2 separate regions of the Homo sapiens genome follow, and region 2 is linked to region 1. The links are contacts of gene promoters, found by promoter capture Hi-C in blood cells and fetal thymus (Javierre and others, 2016). All regions are on one chromosome and are shown on one strand. Each heading gives the region's core, a stretch centred on a gene start or on the middle of the fragment in contact. The rest is flanking DNA. Distances are from core to core; before and after follow the strand shown.

The links. The method cuts DNA at HindIII sites, captures the fragments that hold promoters and counts their contacts. A CHiCAGO score of 5 or more calls a contact.
Region 2: a fragment that was not itself captured here is called in contact with the fragment with the promoter of ARHGAP15-AS1 in region 1 in 1 of 17 cell types (neutrophils); the score reaches 6.1 in neutrophils.

Annotation. Positions count from the first base shown.
Region 1 is chr2:143,773,397-143,778,889 of GRCh38, forward strand. ARHGAP15-AS1 (ARHGAP15 antisense RNA 1) reads right to left here and starts at 2,702. Exons shown (of 8, transcript XR_007087251.1): 1 at 2,607-2,702; 2 at 1,787-1,962. The HindIII fragment of the contact is 5,908 bases long and covers 1-4,638 here.
Region 2 is chr2:145,183,842-145,189,334 of GRCh38, forward strand. It overlaps LOC100505498 (a long non-coding RNA gene), which reads left to right. Exons shown (of 8, transcript XR_923410.3): 5 at 1-2,964; 6 at 5,027-5,299. Among named protein-coding and RNA genes, the nearest start is that of LINC01966, 300 kb to the left of the region's middle. The HindIII fragment of the contact is 1,496 bases long and covers 2,061-3,556 here.

The DNA of each region.
Region 1 (5,493 bases), core at 1,452-3,951:
TTATACTTGAGGAAATTGAGAGCAAAAAAATACTGAAATTACCAAGTTCATGTAAGTAGTATATGCCAGATCAATATTTGAATCTAAGTAATATGGCGCAGAGGCACCTGCCTTAACCACTGTACCATATGATCACTTAATTAGGAAAAGATGCTGAAAAAAATGTAAGTGCATAAACATCCCCAGGTATTTCTACTTGTGTGGGTGCCTGGTCATTCTGTTAAAACACCTGATGAAAGTTTTACTTTCATATGAATTTTCATAAAAGAATAAGGGGGATATTACACAATTTTTTCAAAGAAATACAGAGTACCTCTGTTCTTATGAGTAGATGGTTAATCTCATGCATGTTATTTCTATAATTTTAATATTTGTGTAGCATTTTGTTTGCCTACATGTTTTGCAGACATTGTACTAATTTTTTACTGCATTATGGAAAGGACAGAACAGAAGCCTCTTTACCCATCTTTACAGGTACCTGTTGGGGTAGCTTCAACCCCATGTTATGTTGTATTATGCTGTGTTGGATCATATTTGTCAGTGTCCTGTTATCATCTATCATACCTTACTATCTAATATTGTATTGAACTTAAATCTGGCCCTTTAGGGGTCCTGTGAAAGATGAAAAATGTGGGTCCCAGCAGCCTTCCTCTTAAATATAATTGAAAAAGAGGCAGGCATCAAGACATGTCATGTCTCATGCTGCCAGAAAGTGATCTTGAATCATTTAAATGATGAGAATACAGTGAACATTTTGTACAAAAAGATGACAATTTTCTGTAGTAGTGTTGTCCAGATGAAAATGCCTAGCTGTCTTGGTAAGAGACCTGAAGAAGGATATACACACACACACACTCCTTATAGACTTATACAACTGATTTTTGCTATTTTATGCTTGAAGCAAAGTATGCAGGGTCCACAAAACTCTTAAGCCATCAGTAGGATTCTATACAACACTCCCCATTCAATAAGGAGAGCGCTAAGAAAGCAGTAAGTGAGAGTGGCAACACCATGCCCGTGCTTGGGGCTCTGTGCACACTTGATGGATCAGTGAACCAAGACAAAAACCCAGAACACTAGCAACATTAAATACAAATATGATCCACCGTCAGGTTTCCTATCAAGTTAAATGTAGCGTCTTATGTGCAGCCAAATCAGTGGTATTTGTGTTGACTCTTAGTCCCACCTAAACAAGGGCCATCAAACAGACATTCCTTCAGCTACCTCTCTTGAAGTGCAAGTCCCTAAGAAATGCTTACTAAATCACAGAAGCAGTGGAGAGATGGTAAGATTCACCAATCTAACCCATGCAAGTCTGACAGCAAATTTTGATGTCCCGGTTCAAGTCAGCTGGGAGGAGGAGGGGGTCTTAGGCATCTGTGACACCCAGCAGCATCTTCCACTAACCTTCTCTCCACTTATCAATGTGTGGTTTACATGTCAGACAAATGTTATAAGGCATAGGCATTCTGACCAACATATGAAAATCTCAAAAGCCAAGGAATCTGGAAAATACAAGGCAGTGGCCTGAAAATCCTCACTTTCCTCTGGCACTATTTTCGCTAACAAGTTTACTTGACACACATGCACACACACACACACATGCACACACACACTGGAATTTTAAGAGCAGGAATGTAACCATTGTGCTAACCATTCTCACATCACTCGCAAAATGTGTTCTAAGTCCATATTGTGCAGCATACTTGAAGACATGTGGATTTTTCCACATCATTTGGTGACATTTTACACAGTTTAATTTCTGCTCTTTCTTGCTAGACCCTACCTTTTTTTTCTCTCACAAACATTCCACCAATGGGATTTTCTTGAGCATTTTATCCTGCGCTCAGATTCCTCCCTTTTCTTCAGCATCTACTTGTATCGCTGCTGCACAACTTTGCCATGATGTGTCTGTCAAATTTCAGCCTCCCAGATTGAAAAGAAGGGGACACAGGTGTTCAACTGCCAAGGAGAGAAACCAGGTTAATGGAGTAGGGGCCGGCCTATGGGGCCGGCCTAAAGGGAAACCTCACAACCACAGGCAGAGGCCAACATGGAAGACTCCAGAGAAACGTGGTCCAGCTCGGGATGTTCCATTCCTCCATTCTCCTCACCAGACCAGGTGAAAGGCAGCTTTTAAAGTTGGAAGGAGTGAGGAATACAATTGAAACCAAAATTGGTTTGAGCTCACTATTTTTCTAGCTATCAGTTCTGAGGTCACAGTCACTAAAACTGGAAACTTAAAAATGACTTCAAAAAGGCAAACGCTAACTAGATTTCACACTGGATTTCATTTTACTTGGCATTACAGAAAGAATGCAGGTATTAAATACACTGTTTCCTGTATACAATAAGGTTAATTAGTAGTGAGGGATGGAAAATCAGTGTAGACATAACTCTTTTCGACAGGTATCAAAAATAATCCCCTGATCCCTACAGACCCCAGCTGCATTGAAAGAGGAGTAATATAAAAGATTCTTTAAGCACAAAATTTTCAAACATTCTCCAGGTGTCCCCAGCACCAGTTAAATAGGCCCTGAACCCCCTGTGCATGGGCTGGCTCCCGCTCCATTCCCTGGCTCTAACTTAAAGGCGCAGCTACTCACATTGAATTTTCAGGTGCTGCGTAAAAGCTCTCCATACAAAGCGGCTGGGATTGCAAACGGAGACAGACAGGAGAACAAAAAGAAGAATATATTGCGCCCTGCCTGGGTCTTCCCTAAGCTCCTTATCAATAAGGTTAATAAGGGTCTATGCAATTTACTGATCACTATGATGCAACAACCCTCCTTGTGCTCCAAATCTCCACGTAGGCGCTGGCTTTTAATGCTTTTCTCAGCCAATCACATAAAAGCGCTTTTGCCCGCACCCCAGAGAATAAACTCCGGTTCACGATCCTGGCCTCTGTAAAATCTCTGGTCCGTTATTACACTTCTACCTGCCCTAGTTAAGCAGATTAACAGTTATTTCCTAGAATTTGATCTATGAGGTTCTTTGTAATTGAAGCTGGAGTACTCAGATATTACTAAAAAATGTATTTCTGAAAAACGCATTCCTTTTTTCTCTGGTTTAATTTTGTTATCCTCAATCATATGCATGATATTAAAAAAATCCAAATTTCTATCTCCTCTATAAAATACATGTCATATCAAAAAGGTGACAAGAGGGGGGAAAAGTAATTAGTGAGTTCACGGAGTTCAGTAGAAAAGTTAAAATGGAGTAACACATTACTTTTTATGTTAAGATTTCACAAGACAAGTCTTGCCTGTGTTTTAATTGCATGTGACCCTGGCAGTCCTACTCTGAAATGAAGTGCCGTAAAATTAAAGATGACAGACGCTCAAAACAAGTCTTGTGATCTTGATTAAACTACAAAGACCACACTCTCTCTCTGCTGCAACTCAGATATCATGGGCTGTTTTATTTGGGGAATTGCTTCATTAATGCCTTCTTTGACTAGACATGTTTATTATATTAAAAAAACTGAATATGGTGATATCTCGCATAGCTAAATAATTCCCCCTAAAATGCAAGTTACAAATGAAGAGTGTTTAAATATCCTGCAGACCTAATGCTTTTATAAATGCTCACAATTATATATCTATATATCATATGTATGTGTGTGTATGCATGTGTGTGTGTGTATATATATATATACCACAATCATGAATAATTGAATATGGGCATGTATGGATATATATGACCATATTCATCCTTGAAACATGAATTACCTATGCTAACCTAGGAATCTCTACTATAGTCTGAGAAGCAGAGCAATTATTCTACTATATTTTCTTAGCCATGTAAAATTTCCCAGGCCAACAGAATGTAAAGAATTTTACATTATCCTATACAGACAACTTCTGAGAAAACACTGGAATTTTAAAGTTCCCAGGTATAGTCTGAGAAGAGAACTGGATTTGATTCACACCTGATTTTTCAAAATTATTATCAAGACATTCCATCTAAGTTATATAAAACATAGAATAGATGCTTTTAAATCCTGCTTCTTCCCCTGGGTGGGAGTGGGAAAAAAAGCAGAGTTGAGAGCAAGTCCTTATTTCATTCTGCTGTTAGTGTCTCTCCCATATGTCTCCACTCACCAGGTCTTGTTCAAATCTCAAGCCCTCTGGGACAAGTCCTTGTCCTCAACAAGGACCTTAACAAGTAGGTGAGATTATTCATGTCTAGGGTCTCCTACATTCTAAAGTTCTACGATCCTGTTATTTTGTCCCATTTCAAGAACACTATTTTTAATTCATGTTCCAATTCGTCAATTTTATTTCATTTTAAGAAACAAGAAGACACTATATTTGTAATATACACTGGCTATGTGGGTGTTAATATCTAACAGGGATATATGGATTCACCTGAGAATCAGAGCTGGGAAATCTGGTTTCCAGAATTCACTTTTTCCTGGAGTATTCATCATTCCAGATAAGTCTCCATACACATGTCTCAATTTCTTCATGTTCAAAACACATATGGCAGTTTTTGCCCTACCTAACAAAAAGGGTTGTTGTGAAAATAAAATACAATACTATATATTAAAAACTCTTTGAAAAAAAGTATGACTGATGCTTCCCAATCAGTATTATTTTTACAATTTTTCTACCAATGGCCTTCAGTAAACACAAAAGCTTTTGCATTTACAAGCCAACTGACCCTTTAACTTACACTGTTCTTTTAAAAATCTTCATGCTTGCCTTTAAAATGAAATGCTTGTTCCTGTATGTTTTTTCAACACTGTCAAAAATCCTCAGGTGAAAGATATATCATGTCTTTCATATGGGAGATTTTTATTTGACAGAATAACTCAAGATTCTGGACATAAGAAAGTGTTTATTAGAACCTAATTATGTATAGCATTGCGAGATTATGTTCGGCTAAGAGAACTGCAGTTACATCTACTTTCAGCCTCTCAGTCTCTCTCTACTTCCGAGTCTACTCTCTTCCGTGGCTCTTTTATCTTTTTCTATCTTGGTGCCTCCTTCTCTGTTTCTCTGTGTCTCTTTATTCCCACTCCATACCCTGACATTCAGTACAGGAATTTTAACATAGGTTTCGTGGGTCCCTGGACCCCTGGACTTCAACAGATGCAGGAAATCTCAAAACCTTCATGCTAGATTTTTGGCACATTTTTCTGGAGTCCAAGTCTGGAGTTTTCATCATATTCTCAAAGAGGTCTGTAACTAGGAATTACTGTTCTAGATCCATTTCCCAGCCTATCAATACTGCTATCTTTTGTCTAAATTGAACTGTAGATGGGTCACTGTCAATCAAATCCCAAGTTCTAACAGGCCATGAGGAGTCTCCACGGCTTTCTGTCCAACTGCCTGACAGTACAACCAAGTCCAAGGAGCTAACTATAGATCCAACAAAATCAATTAGTACATATCAAAAAAAAAATATTCAATCCTTAGAGCAATTCCCATTTATAATTGATAAAAATAATAAATAGGGTGCACCCATGAAATTAAGATACTTTGCCTG
Region 2 (5,493 bases), core at 1,559-4,058, 1.4 Mb after region 1:
CAACAGGGACCTCGTTTTGTATGACTGCCACAGAAACGAGCACAGAGAGGGGCAAGATAATGTAAGGAACAGGGTAGGGGAGGAAAAAATGGCCGTTTTAAAAGGAATGACAAGGTTGGGTGAAACATAAAAAGCCACTCCATAGCCAAGAGAGATTAAAAAGAGCTCAAGAGGGTCATGTTGCTTCCCATTTCCCCTTACCTGATTCTTGCTGCCACTCCATTGGTTAAGTTTTACAGGTTGCAGTAACTGGCAAGGAAGAGGTGTGCCTCTCAGCTGTTCACAATGCAGAATCTTGAAAAGGTCAACATAGTAGCAGTATGACAGGCCATGTAAGTCATTATGTGCTTTATAATTCATTTGTAAGTAGAATGAGAACTGGAGCAAATTAAATGTAAACTCTGCCATAGGACCTCTAAAAACATGTTAGTCATATGGAAAGCTAGGTTTTGTTTTCTATCTAGAAAGACAAACAAATATTTCTTCACAAATGTGTTACTTTCCTGAGGAGAGCAGAAATGGGAGATAAATCCATTTGCTGCAAAGTGGTTTAAAGAAAATATATTGGCAGCAGGAGGAAGGTGGTTTAGGGAGATGATATGTAATAGAATACATATACAAGTACTATGAGCGTTGAGATTCAGGTTAGTGCTAATTAGACATTTCCTGATCAGTGAAAATCGTAAGACTTTCAAAGTCCTGTATTTTAAGAAATAGTAAAATCTATCAGGTAAGATAATATATTTATGACTTACCGCAGTATTTTTGTGATGGTTCTGTTCTTTGTGAAGCCTTATTTTGCATTGAAATTGGCACAATTTTACACCGTTAACCAAATTTTCTTTTAATGGAAACTCACACACACATAGCACATTCTTTAGTACTAAGATGCTAAAGTTGCTGAACATGCTACAGGTGATTATGAGGCAGTAGTGAAAGAGTTAATTATCCATCATTCCTCCCCCCTACCCTAGACATCCCACTGTGCCTCTGTTATAGACTTAGGCACAGTTCCTAATGGCAAAATCTATTAGAATGCACAATATTCTCCCAAGGGAGCTGGTGGAAGTTCTGTCACTTGAGACATTTAAAACTACACTGGGTAAAGCACTAGAGAGCTGTGAGTGCATGTGTTCCAACCCTCAGGACAGAAATCATGACCTAATGGGTGATTTCTATCCCTTAATGTCTCTGATTCGCTGGGTGTTTTAATAGCTCCCTCATATTTAAGTAGATGACCAACGGTCTATTTTTTTTTAATGGAACTTGAGTTTGGTCTGTAAAGTGTCAAGACAGAGGTGACAAAACAAACCACAGGGGAATGGAGGAAGCCTCGTGGAAATTTAGTTGGTTTGAAGGAGGGTTGAGCAAACACAACAGTGTATTCGGGTTTAGCAAATGCCTTGACTTCTTTTTTTTTTTTTTTCAAATGTTTTCAGTTCAAGGAAACCCAAAACACATTTGGCTAAACAGTTTTTCCTTAATTTTCAAACCCATGTGTATTTCAAGGGAAATTTAATCCATGTGTTTCTGATTCATTTACACTTAGCTCATCAAAATGTGGTTTCATAAGACCCATTTGATGTCTAAGAAGCCTTGTGAGCTTTTTTTTTTACAAGCTTTTTTTCTTTGAACCAGGAAGTTACATTTTGCCAAGAGTCAATGGAACTTCAACCAGAAAAGAATCAGTTTTGTTTGGGATCTTGGAATCCTCAAAGTTGGTGGGAGCTAATGAGCCGGGAGGGGAGGGGAGGAGAAGCTGATTCAGAGAGCAGGAACCTTCCCATTTCTAATATGTTATCTGTTCAGATAACTTGAAAATCTAATTTTCTCTCAGTTTATAGTAGAAAATTCATCTTCAATTTTTGAAAATCTTGTGGAAAACATGAGCATGAATTTTATTACAGGGTCCAATGCTGTCACATGATCTGATAATCATCCACTAGTGAGTCTGTGGGTGATGAGTATCAGAGCAGTAATGACATACTTATCTTAGAGGCAATTATTAAGAAGTGACTCACAAAAGTGTTTAGATTGGCCATTTTTTTAATATTTAAAAAAGCTTCCTCTGCCTGGTTGTTGTCGCTCTGTGCACAACACTACTGGTTATTTAAGAAACAAGACAAATAAGACTCAGTGAATGTGCTGATTCAGGTGCACACAATCCCCTATCTCATTGCTGGTGTTGCTAAAGAGCATCTGGGGTAAGGAAACATGCATCCGGTCCATCCGTCAAGAGTCCATGAGAAAGCCAACAATGTTTGCACCTGCAGGATGAATTACATCTTTGGTGAGTGTGGGAAGCTACATAATGAGACAGCTGAGTGGCTGACATTTCTTTTTTCTTGCTCCTTCTGCACCTTCTTTTTGCACTACCTTCATTTTTCCCACTTCCTCTCCCTTTTCCCCACCTTTATACAATCACCACCAATAATGGAGCAAATGTGGCACATCCATCCAAGGATGGGTTGACATGGTTTACACATTGCTTTCATTTGGTTGTTCTTTGGATGAATTCTTCCTTGAGAACAAGATAATGAAAACCATACGGTCATTGAGCACACAATCTGCCTTCACTTTGGCTGTTCCCTCGCAGCCCGTTTCATTTTATAAAGCCTGGTCCCTGAGTTTACGCCAGTAGAAGATCCCAAGCAGGTGGAATCCTGCCCCCTATGGGCTTGCAGAATTCAGCAAACACTGTCAGTTTAGCTCTTGCCTGTCACCCATACATCAGAGAACTTATTTGAATGGAACATCTCTTGCTAGTCTGGTAAAGGTTTAGAAACTTGGCCTTCTAAGTATTCATGTAAGTTCTGTTCTGGGACCTTCATTGTAGGAACTGAAAATGAAAGAACCAAAATAGATATCAACAGATAATTAAAGGAACGTTTGGAAGTTTTTTACCTCATGCAAACCTCAAACTCTGAACCACTACTGCCTAAAGGAAATAAATACTGTGTTATGGTGAGTGAAGGTAAAGGTGTACTTTATTTCTTGGATGAGTTTTGACAGTGTAAAACAAAATGATAAGTTTTTAACTATGGCAGAAAGTTCAGACAACAGGTGTGAGGGAAAAGAATTATTCATTGATTCAAAGTCCCATACAAGTGAGTGAAATGGCTAAAAGCAATAAAATTACAGATGACGTCTTTGGAATTTAAACAAAAGAAGTTTATTTTCACTTTCTAATTTGTAGCTTGCTTTTATAGACACCAAAGAAACATCACAGAAATATTAAATTATTCTCTGAAAATACAAAGATAAAAACTATTGAGGTTTAAGATAGAAGATATTTTCTCTTAAAATTGGCTATGATACTTCTACACTGATAGAACTTATGAAAATAGCCAATCTATTATGACTAATTTAATTTTCTTTCCCAAAGATACATAATTCAGAATAAAAACCGTAATCAATGCCCAAAACACAAATCTCATACATCTTGCTAATGCTGGAGAAATAGTGTCAAGTTCTTTTTCAGTACAAATATATGCAGTACTTTTACTATGTTTTGTTTTTAATTCTCAGAAATCCTTATTATTAATCAAGCAAAACAAGCTTTTTATAATATAGAATTATCCTTCCGCTGTAAGAGTAGAAGCAAAGTAATTCAAAGTAAAATATGAAAAGTGCTATAATTTAGTAAGAGATGGAAAGAAATTTAGAATAATTTTGTTCAAACTCATAATTTTATGATTGAAGAAACAAAAATCCAGAGTGTTTAGGAGTTTGTTCAAAGTTCAAAACCTGGAATCTCTAAGGTTGGATATCAGAAGTCAGCTCTAAATACAAGTTCAGTGCTATTTTAACAATCAATAAAATTTCTAAGAGCAATATATTCCTGAGATGGAACACATCAGAAAAGACTATAGGGATTCTTTGAATTTGGAAAGTTCTTACTAGGTAGAAATTCCAATAAATACAACAGATTAAAATGGAACTCATTCACTGAGGTGGAGTTGGAAACCCTAGGGTCTCATTTGTTAGCTCCTCTCACCCACTCCTTCTGAGGGCCCTCTGAATACCTTGTAAAAACTCCAAGAGTTTCTTAGGACACTGTCTTAAAACCACCAATAATATTCCCAGTTGTGGTGAGTAGACTCAAAAGTGACCCCAATGACCCTACAAAGTACCACAGACTGGGTGGCTGAAACAACAGACATTTATTTTCTCATGAGTCTGGAGGTTAGAAGTTTGAGATCAAGGTGTCAGCAGAGTTGGCTTCTGAGGCCTCTCTCCTTGGCTTGTTGATGGCCATCTTCTCTCTGTGTCTTCACATGGTCTTCCTTCTGCACTTGTCTGTCTCTTAATTTCTTCTTGTAAGAACACCCATCATTGCATTAGGGCCTGCCCTAGTGACCCCATTTTAACTTAATTATCTGTTTAAAGACTTTATGTCTGAGTTTAATTAAGCTAATACAACAAAATACCTTAGACTGGGTAATTTATAAACATCAGAAACTTATTGCTCATAATTCTAGACACTGGGAAGTCCAAAATGAAGGCACCAGCAGAGTCAGTGTCTGGTGATGGCTCACTCTGCTTCAAAGATGATGCCTTCTCAAGTGTCCTCACAAGGTGAAAGGGTGAGGCATCTCTCTGGGGTCTCTTTTATCAGGACAGCAATCTCATTCACAACAGCAGAGCCCTCATGACCTAATCATCTCCCAAAGGTCCCACCCCCTAATATCATCACCTTGGTGAGTAGGTTTCAATATATGAATGTTGTGGGTATGCAAACATTCAGATGATAGTACCTTATCTCTAAATACAGTTACATTCTGGGGTACAGTGGGCTTTGACATATAAATTTGTGGGTTGTGGGGAAGCGGGCATTTTTCAGCTCCTAACACTCACCTTTCTATATTATCCCTTTGTATCATACCCTCCCCTTGGGTGGGAAATTTGACTTGATTCTAATCTATAGAATATGACAAAAGTGATAGGAGTCACTTTATCACTTCATGATTATGTCACATGATAAAATAACCTGTCTTGTTCTAGAGATTTTCTGTCTCTCTTATAGACTTTGAAAAAGTGAAGTGGCCATGTTAGGAGGCCCAGATGGTAAGGAGCTGAGGGAGGCCTCCAGGAAATGGCCAGCAAGAAGCCGGCTCCCTCAGCCTTGTAGCTACAAGAAAATGAATTCTGCCAGCAATCTGAGTGAACTTGGAAGCTGATTCTTCCTCTGTCAAGCCTCCAGATGAGAATCTCAGTCACAGCCAACACCTTGACTGCAGTCCTTAGCAGAGGACTCTGCCAAGCTGTGCCAGGACTCCTGACCTGCAGAAATTGTGAGGTAAGACATATGCATTGTTTTAGGACACTAAGGTTGTGATAATTTGTTACTAGTATGGAAAACTAATACCTAAACTCTCAGAGTGGTTTTGGAACCAGGCTGTGGGTGCAGGCAGGGGAAATTTTGAGAAACACGATAGAAAATGCCTAGATAGGGCTGGGCGCAGTGGCTCACGACTGTAATCCCAGCACTTT